Linked DNA regions of Homo sapiens: region 1 is linked to region 2. The links are contacts of gene promoters, found by promoter capture Hi-C in human tissues and cell types (Jung and others, 2019). All regions are on one chromosome and are shown on one strand. Each heading gives the region's core, a stretch centred on a gene start or on the middle of the fragment in contact. The rest is flanking DNA. Distances are from core to core; before and after follow the strand shown.

Region 1 (4,901 bases), core at 1,853-4,352, 710 kb after region 2:
GGGCCTCACAATCATAGTGGAAGGCAAAGCAGGAGCAAAGTACTGTCTTACAAGGTGGCAGGCAAGAGGACGTGTGCGGGGGAACTGCCCTTTATAAAACTATCAGATCTTGTGAGACTTATTCACTATCAGAAGAAGAGTGTGGGAAAGACCCGCCCCCATGATTCAGTTACTTCCACTTGGCCCCACCCTTGACACATGGGGATGATTACAATTCAAGGTGAGATTTGGGTGGGGACACAGCCAAACCATATCAACTACAATATATCACAGTTGATGCTCCTCTTGCCTTCCAAGGCAGATGTCTTAGGAAATCCTGATCCTTTTTCCTTGTCCACAGCTGTGGCTGCCTCATGGCTCAGGGCCATGGGGTCAGCACTCTCCTCACCTCCACCAGTCCAAGACCTCCAACCTCTGGTTGCAGGCTGATTTTTTACCAATCATGGTCACTTCATTATGGAGGCAGGGAACCCAGCTAACAATGAGGCTTAAACGCTGAGAGGCGAGTGCCTCCTGGCCAGCTCACAAGGCAGCGGAGATCTTAGATCAGCCCAGCAGGCTTTTTTGAGGGATCCTTTTCCTGCTCCAACTTCATATTTTCTTTTTTTTGTAATGGAGTTTCACTCTTGTTGCCCAAGCTGGAGTGCAATGGCACGATTTTGGCTCACTGCAGCCCTGCCTCCTGGGTTCAAGTGATTCTCCTGCCTCAGCCTCCTGAGCAGCTGGGATTACAGGCATGTGCCACCATGCCTGGCTAATTTCTGTACTTTTATTAGAGATGGGATTTCATCATGTTAGTCAGGCTGGTCTCAAACTCCTGACCTCGGGTGATCCACCTGCCTCAGCCTCCCAAAGTGCTGGGATTATAGGCATGAGCCAGCAGGCCCGGCCCAACTTCCTGTTTTCATAGAAAAGCAGATTGTAACTCTGGTAGCTCCTGTGGAGTTTTGGAAGTGGCTTAATAGGATTTGAACTGTATAATCTAGTTTCAGAGAAATGTATGTAAAATGGGTTATGATTTCATTTTCTGTTTTTTACAGCATTACTATCCAAGGGGTTACTTTTCCAAATAGTGAATGCTTTTAAGCACATGAGCATCAGTACATATTGATTTGGGTACTTTAAGACCCATAGAATGAGGCTCTCCATTTAGCCACCCTGTTCTGCCCAGGCCTGCTGGGATCCTCTTAGCCCAGCACAGCAGCAGCAGTATTTGCAGAAAGCAGCTTGTTTTGTGAAATATTTTGCATGTCTGCAGCTAGAGCTGTTTGAACAGAGATCTGCTGGCCTGCCTGGGTGTGTAAACAGATAGCTGATACCCTCTGTCTTCTGTATTCCAGCTTGATGGACCAGACAAATAGGATGATGGCTGCCCCCACACAATAAATGGTAACATAGGAGACATCCACATCCCAATTCTGACAAGACCTCATGCCTGAAGACAGCTTGGGCAGGTGAAACCAGAATATGTGAACTGAGTGGACACCCGAGGCTGCCACTGGAATGTCTTCTCAGGCCATGAGCTGCAGTGACTGGTAGGGCTGTGTTTACAGTCAGGGCCACCCCGTCACATATACAAAGGAGCTGCCTGCCTGTTTGCTGTGTTGAACTCTTCACTCTGCTGAAGCTCCTAATGGAAAAAGCTTTCTTCTGACTGTGACCCTCTTGAACTGAATCAGACCAACTGGAATCCCAGACCGAGTCTGCTTTCTGTGCCTAGTTGAACGGCAAGCTCGGCATCTGTTGGTTACAAGATCCAGACTTGGGCCGAGCGGTCCCCAGCCCTCTTCATGTTCCGAAGTGTAGTCTTGAGGCCCTGGTGCCGCACTTCTAGCATGTTGGTCTCCTTTAGTGGGGCTATTTTTAATGAGAGAAAATCTGTTCTTTCCAGCATGAAATACATTTAGTCTCCTCAAAGGGACTGCAGGTGTTGACATGAGTTGGAAAGGGAACCCTGGGATACGTGGCGTCCCCTCTATTGGAACAGTCTGAGGACTGAAGGCATTTGTCCCTGGATTTATTGGAGACGGCCCAGCTCCTCCCTCTGAAGGTGGTCACATTCTGTTGACTCTCCATACTCAGCCTCTCCTCCAGAAACAGATCTGTTCCAGAACATTCCAGCACTTTCTATCTGGCCTCCTTGTCCCCACACTACGCCCCCCCACCCTCGCCAGGGCTTCCTCTAGTGACACTGTTAGAGCTAATCTCTGAGACAGGGAAGGCATTACTCACTTAAAACCCAGGCTGAGTCCTGGCCACCTGCTGGATTGTGACATAGGAGGTGGAATCCACTGAACTGCTACTTCTGCACAGGCTCCTTCTCCTGGGGCTGTACCCAGGCCCAGCCCTGATGGCTCACCCTGTCAGGCACCAGCTGCTCCCTCCTGGGCTCTCACCCACCTGCACATCCTCCTTCCTAGCATCACATTACCTGCGTGTTTCCCCAGACAAAAGCACTTCCCATTCTTGAACCTTGCCTACCCTGGGCTGAGCTGACGGCAATAGATTTAATGACAGTGACTCCCAGGAAGGGGGTCCTGTGACTTTGCGCCTTAATAAGAACAAAAGGTGGAATTGGTGACCTAGGAAAACTGTTGAATTCTAAAAAGAATGAAGTTAGTTTCTAACCCTAGTTAATGTTCCTTTTTTATTTTTTGAGTCTTGCCCTGTCACTCAGGGTGGAGTGCGGTGTTATGATCTCAGCTCACTGCAACTTCCGCCTCCCGGGTTTAAGCGATTCTCCTGGGTAGCTGGGATTACAGGTGTGTCCCACCACACCTAGCACATGGGCATATTTGTAATAGAGACAAGGTTTTGCTATGTTGGCCAGGCTGGTCTCGAACTCCTGGCTTCAAGTGATCCACCCACCTCGGCCTCCCAAAGTGCTGGGATTACAGGCATGAGCCACTGTGCCTGGCCCCTTTATTTGATAATTTACACATACATTTTTGTCCAAAACTCTTCTTTATTTCAAGATGATGTTTCTGTGGCTATGTGTGGTATGTGGTATAAATCTCAATCTATGGTCACACGAGGGGCATTTTCCTTGTTGTAAGTGTAGTCTAAACCAGTAGGAAGGAGGTTTAATTGCCAAAACCAGCGAGAACTCGGGCACTGTGGATACTACAGTGGGCAGCTGAACGAGGACCAAGGAGAATGTCTAAGAGGCCTCCAGCCCTGCGCTCAGTGAAGACAGGACAGGAACAACAGAGCATACATACCTTGGAAGGGTGTGTTCTGATATACTCGTATGGAAAGTTCTGACAGGTTTTCTCCCTGGGAAGTGCAGCACATACCCCAACACACTGGCTCTGCCAGTGTGCCAATCCCAGATGGTGCTTGCTTTGTGTGCACCCACACCCAAACCCCTGCCCTCCCATATGCTCTTCTGTGTGCCCAGGTAGGCCCTGCCCTCAGGCAGCAGCTTCTGAACACATTCCTCTTGGCGCAGACAAAAGAAAGTACTTCGTCTGTGGAATTCGAGGCTGAGCCTGAGTTCTAGCACAAGAAGACCGTTGCAGTCCAGAGATGAGAAACTGGACCAGAGGCAAATCATGAACAGAACGGGAGTCAAGAGAAGGGGTTTCTAAGATGGAGAAGTGGGGGCGGGTGTGGATCCAGTGGGATGTGGCTTCCCCAGGTTGCAACCCCAAGGAAGTCTCTGGAAGCAGCACCAGTCCTGATGGGGGAGCAGAAGAGCTGCCATCCTCAGTCAGGGTCCGAGTCAGGGTCCGAGGAGAGCTGCTGCTCCATAGTCTCGCACATGGCATCCTGCAGGGACGTAAGATGACCCCGGGGACTCATCCCCATTGGCTGGATGACTCTGTTCCTGTTGGGGAAAGGTGCAGTGGGGCTGGGGAAGGGGCCCAGTTGGCCAGGCAGGGGTCCTACTCACCCGTGGCTGCTACCTTCCTCTCTACCAAGTAGGCTGCTCCCATTTACTGGGGAAGCCTGGTTGGACCTTCTGTTAACTGGGCCCAAACCCTAACTGCTGCCTCCTGGCTTTAAGCAGTTTCCTATTTTAAACATCTAAATTGGCCTTAAGCAGGCTCTTAATTTGGACACTGGGCCATCTCCAATAAATCTGGCGACATTAGTCTCTTTTTTTTTTTTGAGACGAAGTCTCACTCTGTTGCCAGGCTGGAGTGCGGTGGCACAATGTCAGCTCACTGCAAGCTCTGCCTCCTGGGTTCAAGTGATTCCCCTGCCTCAACCTCCCGAGCAGCTGGGACTACAGGCGCCCACCACCACGCCCAGCTAACTTTTTTTTTGTATTTTAGCAGAGATGGGGTTTCACCATGTTGGCCAGGATGGTCTCGATCTCCTGACCTTGTGATCTACCTGCCTCAGTCTCCCAAAGTGCTGGGATTATAGGCGTGAGCTACCACGCCCGGCCTTAGACAGTCTCTTAATTTCTCTGGGCCTCAGTTATCATCTGTAAAAGGGGCACAATACTGATCTCAATATACCCATCCCCTGGGGGATTTCCTCCAGGGCAAGTGATTTCAAACGTGAGCAATGCAACCTAATACCAGGATCCTAAGCTCTCCTCTGATCCTACCTCCTGGGGCTCACAAGACAGGATGTGGGTCAGCTCTCCCTTCTCCCAGCTGCAGGCCCCTCCTCCTCATGCCACACACCTGGAGAGCTTGTCAAACATGGTCACCAGCTTCATGGCCTCGTGCTCCTTCTGCTCCTCTGTCATGCCCTCCATAGGGTTAGGCGGCTTCTCCTCCACCCTCCCGGTCACAGGGTTTATGCTGTTTCCCAGTGGGTGGAATGTGGGGAATGCATTAGTGACTCTCCAGGACAGGAGGCAAGCCACCTATTTTCCCAGTGGGGTGAGGTGGGCAAGGCAACTGCAGGAAGAGGCCTCCCTCCAGAAGCGGCACAGGTAACCA
Region 2 (4,799 bases), core at 231-2,730:
CTCACGCCAGTAACCCCAGGACTTTGGGAGGCCAAGACAGGTGGATCACTTGAGCTCAGGATTTCGAGACCAGCCTAGGCAACATGGCGAGACCCCCCCATCTCTACAAAAAACACGAAAATCAGCCAGGCATGGTGGTGGTGCACGCTTGTAGTCCCAGTGACTCCGGAGGCTGAGGTGGTAGGATCACTTGAGGTGGGAGGTTGAGTGCGCCGTGATGGAACTACTGCGCTCCAGCCTGAGAGCCAGAGCAAGACCCTGTCTCAAAAAAAAGAAAAACAAAAATCATGAAGTCAACTATTTGCTGGATAACAAGGAAAAAAATCAACGCAGCAGACAGGAAACTGGCTTTGTTTCTCCCTCAAATTAAATAAGGAGATGGCCTCTGAAAGCCAAGAGGAGGTTCTGCACACCAAAGTCAAATTAATTGGTGGACCGGTGCACCCACCCAGCCACCCTGCACATCCTTCTAACAGGCCCAGCCTTCCTGGCTTGTTTAACGGTTTGGTGTGGATTTTTCCCACCCCGAGGGGACAGGCACGGGGCTGAGAACGAGGTCTGTGATTGGAGCAGCAGGCAGCGAGGCCATCCCACACCCCGACTGCTGCTCGTGTCCAGATTCCCTCCGGGAATGAGTCATTTTAATCGTCGTAGGTGAGATCTAATCAGGGGTTAATAAGCCTCCAGAACCCAGGTCACAAAGCTGTTTCCTGGGAAGACACTGATTTCCAGATTTCTGCTCCCAAAGCTAAAATCCACGCCGTTTTGGAAAACGCTGGGTTAAACGCTCCAGTACTAGAAAGACCAAGGTGACATCATGCTGGGGAGGGGCGTCTTGGCCCGGAACCCCCTTGGTGGTGCCGCAGCCCCCCGCACGGACCAGCAAACGGGAGTGGAGATGTGGATGAAGGGCCGTGCCCTAAACCCCTAGACCCCGCACCCCTAGACCCTGGACACCCCACCCCGCACCCCCAGACCCAGGGCCCCGCTCTGCATCCTGACCCGCACCCCCATACCCGATACCCCAAGACTCTGAGCGCCGCCCGCACCCCCAGACCCTGGACCCCCACCCCGCACCCTGGCCCCCACCCCCAGACCCGGTACCCCAAGACCCCGAGCGCCGCCCGCACCCTCAGGCCCCGGGCCCCGCCCGCATCCCAGCCTGCACCCCCGCCTCGAGGCCCCGCCCCGGGCCTCCGCTCCCAGACCCCGTCTCCGCCGGCGGCCCCGGCCCCGGCCCCACGCCGCCCCCGCCACTCACAGTTGCGGATATCCGAGATGAAGACCGCCAGGCCCCGCATCCCGTCCCCCTTGGACACGGCCGGCATCTTCCGACGCTCGGGAGCGGCCTCGGCTGGCGGACCCGGGCGGAGGAGCGCGGGGAGCGGGAAGCGGGGAGTGCGGTCGCCGTCACCGCCGCGGAGGAGCCGCCGGGGAGCCGCCTAACCACGGCCGCCTCAGGGTCCCAGCGCCGCTTTCTGGGCCGCCGCGCGCGCGCACGTACGGCGCCCGCACCAGCACGCACGCGCACGCACGCGAGCGACGACGGACGGCGGCCGGGGCGGGTGTCGCGTGAGGCAGCGCGCGCGCGTCCGCGGCACGGGGGCGAGCCGGTCGAGGCAGGCGCGGGGGCGCCCCCTGCAGGCGGACACCATGGACGGAGCCGCTGAAGCCACGCGTTCGCGTCCCGGGGCCGCGCCAAGCTGGCGATGCCGCCCGCGTCCCCCACGGGAAGGGCGTGGGTCCGGGCGGGAACCCGCGTGTGCAGCGGGCCGCCTCTGTCGTTGTTGGTGGTCACTGCAAAAGAGGCGGCCACGCAGGCACACGCGTACGGCCTCGTCCTGGGCCTCGGCCCCGCTAGCTTGCCCCGAGCAGTCTCCGTTTTCTTACTTGGAATAAACGACCTGTGAGCGCTGGGCGGCGGGGCAGCTCCGAGGCCAGGGCCTTGTTTGTTCCGCGGGGGCCGGGGCGGGAGGGCGGCGCCGGGAGGAAGCTGGGGCTCCAGGCGAAGGGGTCACAGCCGCTGGACGGCCTTTGGCGAGGAAACCCTCCCCTAGCACGGTATCCTGAGACGGTGGGGCTGGCCCGCCCCTCCTGCCGCCCTGAGCCGCCAGGGCCACATCTCTTGCGGTCCCTGAGCTGGGGGCGAGGCAGGCCCCGTGCCCGACCCAGCCCAGGGTCTGTGTGGCAGCCCAGGTGCCCCCTCCACATCACCTGGGCCTGCAGAGAAACAACCACCCACCCCACCCCAGTGACAGCGGCCGGGGGCGGCAGCCCCTGCGGAATCTAGTCCCTCGGCGGCGCCAGGACTTTTGGCCACTGTTGCCAGGGCCCCCTCTGCTCCCCAGCCCTCTGCACCACTGCAAGCTGGAGGCCTAGGCCCACCCCTGTGGACACATCGCAAGGGAGGACCTGCTGGGCCAGGCTGCACAGCTCCAGGTCCCGGCCAGGAAGAGACCCCAGGGAGTGGGGAAGCAGATGGCCCTGCCTCACTGTCCTTCCCAGAGCCAGATGGCTTTGAACAGGAAGCTCCCTCCTGCTGCAGTGGGGGGATCTGGACCCTGTACCTGGAACTGGCCCAGACCCACCAGCCAGGGCTTTGTCCCCACCCTGGCTCACTTCCGCAGCCCCAGATGAGAGCTTAGCCCTGGTGGAGCCCGGCCAGGAGGAGGGCACAGGACCCATGCCCCTCCCCAATGAACCGGGTGCCGCACCCAGGCTCTGGGCCTCCAGAACTCCTGGGGAAAACCAAGATCTGTGACAGACCCCAGTCAGCATAAGGCAACCAAGTCCATCACTTCCCAAGACAGAGGCACGGAGCCGACCCAGCAGAGGGCTTCCTGGAGGACGGTACACCCCTCCGGAGTCCCTATCCTCTCCCAGTGCCACCTCCTGGCAGAGAAAGTGGTCCCGGGGCTGTTCATTCTTCAGCCTCTCCCTTCCACCAAGAAGCTTCCCTCCCCTGTCCCTGACAACAAATAAAGGCCATTCTGGACACAAGAGCATCTTGTGCCATGTGAGGGGTCCTGGGCTGCTCTCCAGGACAGTCCCAGCAGTCACGAGGACCGTCCACTAACACACGTGGGCAGAGCATGGGCTCTGGGCGTCAGGAGGCTGGCATGCCTAATCCAAGCTCCCATTGGCAGTGGCAGTGCAGAAGACCGAGACAAGCAGACCACTGTGCCCCCCCACCAGCAGCCACTCACAGAGCAGGGCAATGGGGGTGCTGCAGGGGCTGCCCACAGGAGGGCTTGGGCCTGGCAGGCATCCCCCTCCGCCCACTCGGAAGACTCCTCCTCAGTGCCAGCTCTGGGATTCCCACAGACATCCTCCCGTCCACACAAGAGTGTTTAGGGGTCCCAGAAGGCCCGACATGCAGCCATGCAAAAGACTTCCCACCTCCTTCCAGCGTCGTTGCCCTTGCAGACACGCAAGCCCTCCAGATGATTCACTCCAGTCCCAGCCTTGGGTCTGAGTCCATGTGGGCCTCTCTGACCACTGCCACTCCTCGGCTCGGGAGAGGCCAGCTTCGGGAGTGCGCAGTCCTAGGAAACAGTTTCTTTTTCTTTATTTTATTTTTTGTAGTGATGGCATTTCACCACGGTGCCCAGGCCGGTCTTGAACTCCTGTAATCCCAGCATTCCGCCTGCCTGTGTCTCCCAAAGTGCTGGGATTACAGATGCAAGCCACTATGCCTGGCCTATTTATTTATTTATTTATGTTTAATTTTAGAGACAGGGTTTCTCCCTTTGACTCCCAGGCTGGAGTGCAGTGGTACAATCATGAATCACTACAGCCTCGACCTTCTGGGCTCAAACCATCCTCCTGCCTTGGCTCCCAAAGTGCTTAGACTGCAGGTGCACGCCACCACACCTGGCTAAGTTTCTGATTTTTGTGGAGATGGAGTCTCACTATGTTGCCCAGGCTGGTCTTGAACTCCTGGGCTCAAGCAGTCCTCCTGCCTTGGCTTCCCAAAGTGCTGAGATTACAAGCCACTGTGCCTAGCCTCAGTATCTTTCTTTTTTTTTTTTTTTCTTCCTTGAGATGGAGTCTTGCTCTGTCGCCCAGGCTGGAGTGCAATGGCATGATCTCGGCTCACTGCAACCTCCACCTCCCGGATTCAAGCGATTCTCCTGCCTCAGCCTTCTCAGTAGCTGGGATTACAGGCACGCACCATCACGCCCGGCTAATTTTTTGTATTTTTAGCAGAGGTGGAGTTTCACCATGTTGGCCAGGATGGTCTCAATCTCCTGACCTCATGATCCGCCCTCCTCGGCCTCCCAAAGTGCTGGGATTACAGGCGTGAGCCACCGCGCCCAGCCATTTCTTAAATTATTTGAACGTTTGTCATACTTTAGCCACGCAAGGTCACAGTACTATTCCCAAGGGCAGAGGTGGGGACGAGTCGCTTTCCTTCATCCACAGCCATGGGGAAGCCAGGGTCCACAGATACAAGCCCGACGTGGGCATCATGAAGGGAAAACAGGCTGGGGCCCCAAGCTGCGGTGTGGAGGTGCTGTCTCACTGCAGCAGGGTTCCCCAACATATAGCCCCTGCAGCGTTAGCTGGCCATGCCCTGGGTCCTACCCAGACCTGAACATGTCTGTTTTACAAATGACCCAGTTTCCTTCTCATCATCTCTGGCGTAAGTTGCAGACAATGACCCTTCCAGAAGAGGGTCTGGCAGCATGTTCCATGTACAGTTGGTCCCTGTGCACTCATGAGAGTTCAGGGACAATGAGGTGGCATGCTCAGACCCTGTGGCCCCCCCGTGATCATCTGAGCACCTGCAGTCCCCA

Evidence for each region. The method cuts DNA at HindIII sites, captures the fragments that hold promoters and counts their contacts. A contact is called where the count stands out against the background at its distance.
Region 1: a contact is called between a fragment that was not itself captured here and the fragment with the promoter of AP2A2 in region 2, in 2 of the 25 tissues and cell types used here (heart left ventricle and liver).

The regions. Positions count from the first base shown.
Region 1 is chr11:213,158-218,058 of GRCh38, reverse strand. It overlaps RIC8A (RIC8 guanine nucleotide exchange factor A), which reads right to left. Exons shown (of 10, transcript NM_001286134.2): 9 at 4,641-4,760; 10 at 2,946-3,829. The coding sequence ends at 3,709. SIRT3 (sirtuin 3) reads left to right here. Exons shown (of 7, transcript NM_012239.6): 7 at 1,341-3,029. The coding sequence ends at 1,361. Among named protein-coding and RNA genes, the nearest start is that of MIR6743, 6.3 kb to the right of the region's middle. The HindIII fragment of the contact is 6,100 bases long and covers 53-4,901 here.
Region 2 is chr11:922,551-927,349 of GRCh38, reverse strand. AP2A2 (adaptor related protein complex 2 subunit alpha 2) reads right to left here and starts at 1,480. Exons shown (of 22, transcript NM_012305.4): 1 at 1,262-1,480. The coding sequence starts at 1,328. RefSeq lists a silencer at 1,129-1,668. The HindIII fragment of the contact is 16,179 bases long and covers 1-4,799 here.